2 separate regions of the Homo sapiens genome follow, and region 1 is linked to region 2. Evidence: promoter capture Hi-C in human tissues and cell types (Jung and others, 2019). All regions are on one chromosome and are shown on one strand. Each heading gives the region's core, a stretch centred on a gene start or on the middle of the fragment in contact. The rest is flanking DNA. Distances are from core to core; before and after follow the strand shown.

Region 1 (4,210 bases), core at 758-3,257, 140 kb before region 2:
TTTTTTTTTTTTTTTGAGACCTAGAATTAGGAAGGAGTTCAATCGCTTTCTGTTACAAGGTTTTTGGACCACAGGAGATGGGAAAAACACAGTTTGGAAGACTAAATTATACTGATTGCCCAGAATAGTCTGGTTATCCAAGGCCTCTAAGGAATGACTGAGACAGCTAAGTCTCTCTTCCTTTTTATTCCTTCTTAGCTGTGGGGAACTTCAAAGAGCCTAGCCATCTCTTGATGAGGTTTTTTCAGAGAGTGGTTTTAGAATTTAGAATGGTTCTTTGCAATCAGGATCCCATTCCTTATGTTTTTCTTGCCCTGGTGAAAGGGTATTTCAAATTTTCTTCTGGTTTCCTCTAAATTTCAGGGACCTGGGACCTGCATAGATCTAGGGTTTTTATGGTTTGAATACAAATGGAGAGGAGTCTAGAAGTTCAAGGTGTGTCTCACTCTTCCCTGCTTCATTTCCAACTCTTCCATAGGTCCCCCTGTGTCATCTGCAGTGAACAAACCCAAAACACTTGAGTCTTAATGGGAATTATGCAATAGGCATTTAGAGAAAGGAAGTCAGAAGGGGCCAGTGAATTTTTTCTTGACATAAGCTATTGCCTTGCATTCTGTTCCAGAGAGATGCAGGGCTGAATGCCCTCTCCCAGGCCAGCATTTGTCCATTCTCCAAAAGCATTCTGCAGGCCAGTTTGCTTTTAGCTCAGCCAATGCCAGGGTTTGATGATTAACCCATTTGCCCAGGTGAGGAAGGCATCTACTTGGGATGGGTGGGCCCCAGGCCTAAGTTTTAGTGGTCCTAAGAGTAAATGAGTAGAATAAGAGATATAGAGGCTACCCCTGAAGCAAATTTCCTTACATATTCTTGTCTCTGTGTAAGCTGAATGATCGATGTGGTCTTTTACTTGGCTCCCTCTGCTCTGTTTTTTGGTCCTAATTTTCCAGCAGTGGGGGTTACCAGGCACTACTTTCAATGTAGTAGACTCAGCAGTTCTATATCATGCAAATTGTAAATGTAGAGTAGAATGTAATTGTAACGTAGAATGTTAGAACCAAAGATCTTAGAAGTTATTTTCTGCCTTGCCCAGATCTCCTGACTGATTTGAGGATCTTTTCTTTGTTCCCATTCAGCTTCACAGGGACAAGGGTTGGGGGTGGTATCAGAGGACAGCCCCTTAGTCTCCCAAGAGCACTTTGATGCTTGATCCCATTCTCTACATTCCCCCAGCCCAGTCATCTAAGGCCAGAGCTCTTTTCTCTGCTCAGGCATTATTGACAGGATAAGTCCTGGCATTCAGACAGGTCTGGTGAAGTGACCAGGTACTCTGGCCCAGAAGTTCTCTGTCGGCTCCCCCCGCAGGCTCCAATTCAGGTACTGTATGTTATTCTCTTGTTCCTCTTGCCACTGGCTTTTTCCTTAGTCTTAAGTTCCAAGGAATTGTTCCCCTGTGTTTTTTTATTTTCCTGACTTATTCAAGCAGAGCTAGCTCAGAGTACAGGTCTGTAACAAGGGCTTATTAGGAGATAGATGAAAAAGTGCAGGTTTGTATATGTAAGTTGTCCATTACTATAGATAGATACTATTCCAGGCATTGGACTTTAACTGCACTGCCTAAAAGAGCCCAAAGATAAACTTCACAATAGGCTGATATGTGGAATGGGAGGAGGAGATAAAGAACGGGGTTTCTGTTTTATTCATAAGCTCAGTCTTAGCTTCAGTCTTTTCTGAGCATTTGTTTATTTGTAAGATGGAAGTCAAAGTAAGTGGGAAGTCTGTAGGTCAGCTCTATTTTCCATGCCTGCCCTTGACTTCTCCTCAGCTGTTCTCTGCCTGTGCAGGTGAGGCAGCGGAGGTGGTTGGTCCAGAGAGAACTAAAAGAAGTTGTTTTCTTGGACTATAGGTCCAGCTGCAAGGCAGGGTGCCTTTCCTATGTGTTCCTCTTTTCACTAAAAGACTCAAAATGCTTTAGCAGCTAGATCTGGAACTAACTCTTCTGGATGGGGTAGGAACTTCCCTGCCCTTCCCTTAGGGAAGCTCATGTTTCCAAGTCAGACAGCAGGGGGCATTGGGTGCCTTTCGGACAGAAGGAAGCTGCCTAAGCTAGAAGGCCTGCCTGCTGGAGTTTATTTCTTTTGCCTTGTTCAGTGAATTTACCCAGAGGGTGGCTGAGATTGAGGCTTTGGGAGCCCCAAGAAGCTGCTTGGTTTTAATGTGCTGCCTTATAGCTGAGCCTGTTGTGCTCAGGGCAAGTAGTAGGATGTTCCCCCTGGGATGTGCAAGGTTCTCTCAAGCAGACATGAGCCTCCATCACTCCCACCACTCCCTGCAACTCAGCCTCCTCTTCTCAGCCTGTGCCTTCCTCCAGTTCTAGTAAACACTGCCAAATGAATATAGTTCTCCGACTCTTCTCTGGGGGTTCATTGGCAGCTGCTGCTTTCTTCATTTTTTAAAATTTATTTGCCACTTGGTGAAAGCCACTGAGATGGTTTTTTCCAGCCTTGGGCAAGTTGGAGCTTTGGAATCTGGAGTGAATGAGGTCATCTGGATTTCATTGTCTTCTTACGAAGCCAGCAGTAAGCTTGGGCAGTCCACTCACCCACCCCTAGGGCCATATCTGGGGATGAAGCCACCCCCGACCTATACATAGGAAATGATTGATGTGCCTGGTCTTATACCCAGTCTGTGTCTGGTTTCTCTACCCTCAGTGCCCTTTGGCTTAGGCTCAGGATGGGTGGGCCTCCCTTCCCCAGCAGCTGCCTCAGCCCTGATCAAGGGCAGTTATTTGGCTCAAGGTGAGTAGTGGTTTTTAAACCCTACTCCCACACACTGCTGAGTCTGTGTTTTCCTTTCTTCCTGACCAGGTAAACTGTCTTGAGCCCCACCCTCACCTGCCTGTGCTGGCAACCAGTGGCCTAGACCATGATGTGAAGATCTGGGCACCCACAGCTGAAGCTTCCACTGAGCTGACAGGGTTAAAAGATGTAAGTGGCTGACTGCAGAAGTTATTTTCTTTCTGCTTATCCACATACTGTTGATTCTTATTGTCATAGGGAGGAATAACTTGCTGCCCAGTTCTTTAAAGGCACTGCTCTAACACCCTCCCCCACATTCCTGTAATTTCCTCTGTAGGAATAGTCCTGCTCCAGGGGGCAGCTGTGAAGTGGCACTAATTTGTAATAGGATGGGGATAAGGAGCATCTTTAAGAATTATTCTGTATTAAAGCCTGCTACCTTTTCAGCAGCTGAACCTAGGGCATCATTTCCTAATCTAATGTAGCTCCACTTCAACTTAAGGGAAGCTTTTATTGGGATAGGAGATCAGCCTTCTTGATCAGGTCCCGGGTTCCTCTTCATTGCTGCCCCCTCTTCCCAACCTTTTTGGGTTCCAGGTGATTAAGAAGAACAAGCGGGAGCGGGATGAAGATAGCTTGCACCAAACTGACCTGTTTGATAGTCACATGCTGTGGTTCCTTATGCATCACCTGAGACAGAGACGCCATCACCGGGTAAGCTAGGGTTGGAAATGAATTCCCAAGGGAGTGACCCTTTTAAGAGGGCTAAAAAGTTCCAGAGTAGTGACTTCAAGCAGTAATCAGGTGATCTTGGTCGGATTTCCTATCCACTGTCCTCTGTCCCCATCAGATCCCTGATATAGCCTTGGAAGAGACATCAGCAGAAAAGGGTGGTATCTACTTTTGTCCATTGCCGTCCATGTGTAATGCTATCTTCATAAAGGCAAAAGCTGGAGGGTGGAGGAGGGAATTGAGAAGAAATAACAAGTCTCAGTGTGACCCTTCTATTTTTCCTCTTATGCCAAAAGAGGCCTAGTTCAGGGGTTGGCAAACTGGCAGTTGGCCTGCTGCTGGTTTTTGTAAATAAAGTTTCATTGGCTTGCAGCCATACCCATTCTGTGTATTGTCTGTGGCGGCCTTCACGCTACAATGAGTTGAATAGTTGCAATAAAGACCATATAGACCACAAGTCTAAAGTATTTACTCTCTGGCCCTTTAAGAAAAATTCTGCTGATCTCTGGCCTAAAGCATCTAAATTCTGGCTAAGACCTAACAGGCTTGTCCTTGTTCCATCCAGGGAAGTTACTAACAAGCCTTTCCCATCCACAGCGCTGGCGAGAACCTGGGGTTGGGGCCACAGACGCGGACTCTGATGAGTCTCCCAGCTCCTCAGACACATCGGACGAGGAGGAGGG
Region 2 (4,122 bases), core at 161-2,660:
CCCGCCCCCACCTGCCATATGCCCCAAAGCCCACATTCCAAGCGAAGCCCACCTGATTTTTCTTCACATGCTTGCCTCTGAGGAGCTCTCTGAGCTGCAATCTGCTCTGAGAGAGGTCCAGAGCCCTTCCCCAAAGCACCCAGGGTCCTCTAGGAGATATGGACCATACAGGGAAAGGTTTAGAATAGGATTTGGGACTCTTCCACCTTCCCTTCTCTTTCCTGGGAATGATCCTCTCCTCCCACTCCACGGAAACGTGGGCTGGCTAGTGGGTGGGGGATGGAGGAGTGTGCCATAGGAACCACAGATGGCCTGGATGGTTGACCAGGTCCTGGGGAGAAACTGCCTGGGTATGTGACTCTAAACCTAGCACTCCAGCATCTTATGTTCTGGGGTGAGGTCCTCTGCAGTCAGCACTCTGGAGAGGGTGTGTGTGTGTGTGTTTGTGTGTCTTGGGGTAGAGAAGGTAGGAAGAGAAATCAAAATGAAATGGCTTTGAGCTTAGGGGCACCCCCTGCATTTATTGTCCATGGAGTCAGGGGACACAGGGTCCAAGAGCCCCATGGCAATGGAAGATTAGGGTTTCCCCTGCCCCCAACAATGGGCTTCCTTTTCCTTCCCTGAAGCTCAGATGTCCTCAGGAAGAGTAAGCATTGACTGGCTCAGAGACCCCAGGTCATGCAGAAAACGACCCTGCTCCCATTATCCTAGCTTTAGTCCCAGGTGGGCTTCCAGATGTTCTCTCAGGGTCTTAGGTAATCTGACCCCCAGTCGGCTTGCCTAGACAGATCTCTCTGCCCAGGGATGGGGAAGGAACCCCGATGTCGGATCACCCCCAGAACTCTCTCACTCTCCATTGCCCCAGGGATCTAGGTAAACCTTATTTTGAATGTGTCCCACATCCTGTCTTCCTGAGTGGGGGACTGCACTTTTCTCAGGGGAAGGAAAAGTGTGAAATTGTTACCTCTATCTCAAGATCAAGGACTTGATTTCTCCATCTTCCCTCCAAGAATTTCAGTTCCTCCAACCTACTCCTCATTTCTTGTGCATGCTATGACCCCTTTGCAGAAGATTGCAATACCACTTTTCCTGGGCCCCTCTTCCTCCCTCTAGAGAGCTGGGGAGTAAGGGGGCTCATTTTTTGGAAGGAGAGACCTGGTGAAAACTCCCCCAAGAACCAGCTCCTCCCAAACCCCCACTTGCCTTGGAAATAGGGGCCCAAACCCCAAGTCCCCCGCAACTCAACTCACAGCACGTGGAGAGGAGAGTAGCCGGCAGCAGAGACCCCTGGGGGGTGGCGTCCATGCCCCTGACACCGCCCCCCCCACGGGCCCCCCGAAGGGTGGGAGCCGCAGACACCGCTGTTTCTCCTAAATGTAGCGGCAGCTCTGACTAGGACTTGCTATCTGTGTCATCCCTACTTCCCAGGCTCCCCTGCTCCTCTCTTGTTTCCACGGCAACCAGTCTGGCGACAGCTCCAGAGCATCCCCCTCCCCTCCCCAGTCCTGGGTACCACTAGGGGTTGATCCAAACCACACGCCATAGCTATTTTTAGCCAAAGTCCCTCCTCCTGGACAACTCAGAGCTTGGCTCCTCACCCCCTCATAGGAAAAAAAAAAAAAGAAGAAGAAAGAAAAACAAAGCTGGCACGCTGGCTCTTTCCTAAGAAGCTCCTTCCTGGGGGAAAATACAAGCCCTCATGTATTTGAGAATAAGGTGCTAGGTTCCCTGGGGTTTCAGAGGGCCATCTGGTAGCTGGCAGCTCACCACCTTCAACATGGGTCTCTGCGTGCAGGTGCTGCTCTCAGGTCAGGCTGACCATCATGGTCTAGTTTTGGAGAGGCCATGGATCCAGAAGGCGGTAGCTAGAAGGAAAATAGATCTACTAAAGGAAGGGAGGCAGGGTCAGGGGTTCTAATTATTGCCACTGATTTGCACTGTGTCCCATAGGAGTCACTTCACTTCCCTGAGCCACAGTTATTCCATCTGTACCAGGGTGTGGACAAGAGCAAATATCCCCTTTCTGCCTGCTTCACAGAGTCAGCAGATCAAACGAAGAAAAAACAAACAAACAAAAACCAAAAAAACCACAAAGGGCTTTGAAATGTGTTTTATTCATAGCAAAAACCCTAGAAACAACCCAAATGTCCACCAGAGAGAAAAGCCTAGGTTAGGGCTTACTAAGTATTCACTCGGCAAACTTCTGCGGAGCCCAAGTGCCAGGCAGTGTGTTAGATGGGGTGGTTACAGAATGGGTGAGTCCCTGCCCACAAGGAGCTCATTAACCCAGGAGGGATAAAGACACACAAACACACAGTGGCTGCTGCTACTAATTCACTGAGCATGGGATATGAACGAGACACATGCCTCATGTCATCCCCATGGCAACTCTATAAGACAGGTGTTATTTTTCCCAGTTATAGATGAGGAAACTGAAACAGAGACATGTTAAGTAATTTATCGAATGTCACAGAGTTGGGCAGAGACAGGAGCCAAACTCCCACATCTGTATCACCTCATGCTTTGTAAATTGTTTTAAAAGAAGACTTCTTAAAGGGTAGTTTTAGATTCAGAGCAAAACTGAGAGGAAAGTTATAGAGATTTTCCGTATGCCCCCTGTCCCCACACATCCACCAGAATGGCACATTTGTTACAAGTGATGAAGCTACATTGACATCATAATCGCCCAAAGTCCATAGCTGACATTAGGGTTCACTTTTGGTGTTGTACACTCTGTGGGTTTGGACAAATATATAATGATGTGTATCCACCATTATAGTCTCATTGCTGTAAAAGTCCTCTATGCTCTGCCTAGTCAATCCCCCTTCCCTAACCCCTGGCAACAACTGCTCTTTTTCCTGTTTCCATAATTTTCCTTTTCCAGAATGTCATGTCGTTGGAATTGTACAATATGTAGCCATTTCAAATTGGCTTCTTTCACTTAGTAATGTAAATTTAAGGTTCCTCCATGTCTTTTCATGGCTTTGTAGTTCATTTCTTTTTGGCACTGAATAATATTCCATTTCAGGATGGCCATGGTTTATTTATCTATTTACCTACTGAAGGACATCTCGGTTGCTTTCAAGATTTGGCCATGATGAATACAGCTGCTATAAACATCCATCGGCAGATTTTCATGTGGACGTAAGTTTTCATCTCCTTTGGGTAGATACCAAGGAGCATGATTCCTGGATCGTATGGTAAGAGTATGTTTAGTTTTTTAGGAAACTGCCACACTTTCTTCCAAAGTAGCTGTACCATTTTGCATTCCCATCAGCCACGAATTCCTGTTCCTGTTGCTCCACATTCCTGCCAGCATTTGGTGTTGTCAGCCTTAGCCTAGTGTGCCTCAGTAATGTAATATCTGTGGAATATTAATATCATGGGTTACTGTAAAGCCATAATAATTGCTGTGTTTAAATATGTGAATGTGTATATAACACACTGTTACATAAAAAAGCAGAACCTAAAAATATTCTTAGAAATTGATCATGACTATATTGAAATAGCTTCAGGAACACTGATAAAAATCAGAACAAAATTTGGAGAAACAGAAATATCTTATTGTTTATTTTTCCCCAGGGAAATAATGAAGAGAAGAAAGTGGTTTACAAACGCAAAGTGTTGTTGCTGTTGTTATCAGTATTATTATATCCCAGATATGGATCTATTCTTATCCAGATCCTTTAAATTTGGATCAAGAAAATATGAGCTAGAGGAGCAGGAAGACATAGAGATGGACACGGAGGGCTAGAAGCTCCTGGAATGACCTGGCAAGGTGGGAAATTCGGTACTGGATAATATAAGCTCAGGAGGCAATGACTTGGGTTCAAATCCCACCTCTGTCCACTACTAGCTGGGTGAACCTGAGCAATTATTTAACCCGTTAAACCTCAGATTCTTCATCTAAAAAAAAGAAAACCATATTATTCATCTCTTAGAGGGTTGTCATGAAGACTACATAAGGCAATGCCTGACACATTGTTAGTACTCAGTAAATGCTAGCTACTGTCTTCCTCTTCCTCCTCCTCATTGTCTTCTTCATGGTCATCATCATTGTCACTGTCATCACCATCATCTCAGGGATGTCCTGAAAGCCCCACCCTGCCTGTGCCACCTTCC

What was found. The method cuts DNA at HindIII sites, captures the fragments that hold promoters and counts their contacts. A contact is called where the count stands out against the background at its distance.
Region 1: a fragment that was not itself captured here is called in contact with the fragment with the promoter of KCNJ9 in region 2 in 1 of the 25 tissues and cell types used here (aorta).

The regions. Positions count from the first base shown.
Region 1 is chr1:160,217,623-160,221,832 of GRCh38, reverse strand. It overlaps DCAF8 (DDB1 and CUL4 associated factor 8), which reads left to right. Exons shown (of 14, transcript NM_015726.4): 12 at 2,865-2,984; 13 at 3,393-3,509; 14 at 4,125-4,210. Among named protein-coding and RNA genes, the nearest start is that of PEA15-AS1, 11 kb to the right of the region's middle. The HindIII fragment of the contact is 5,386 bases long and covers 1-4,210 here.
Region 2 is chr1:160,078,826-160,082,947 of GRCh38, reverse strand. It overlaps KCNJ9 (potassium inwardly rectifying channel subfamily J member 9), which reads right to left and starts at 1,410. Exons shown (of 3, transcript NM_004983.3): 1 at 1,251-1,410. The HindIII fragment of the contact is 10,034 bases long and covers 1-4,122 here.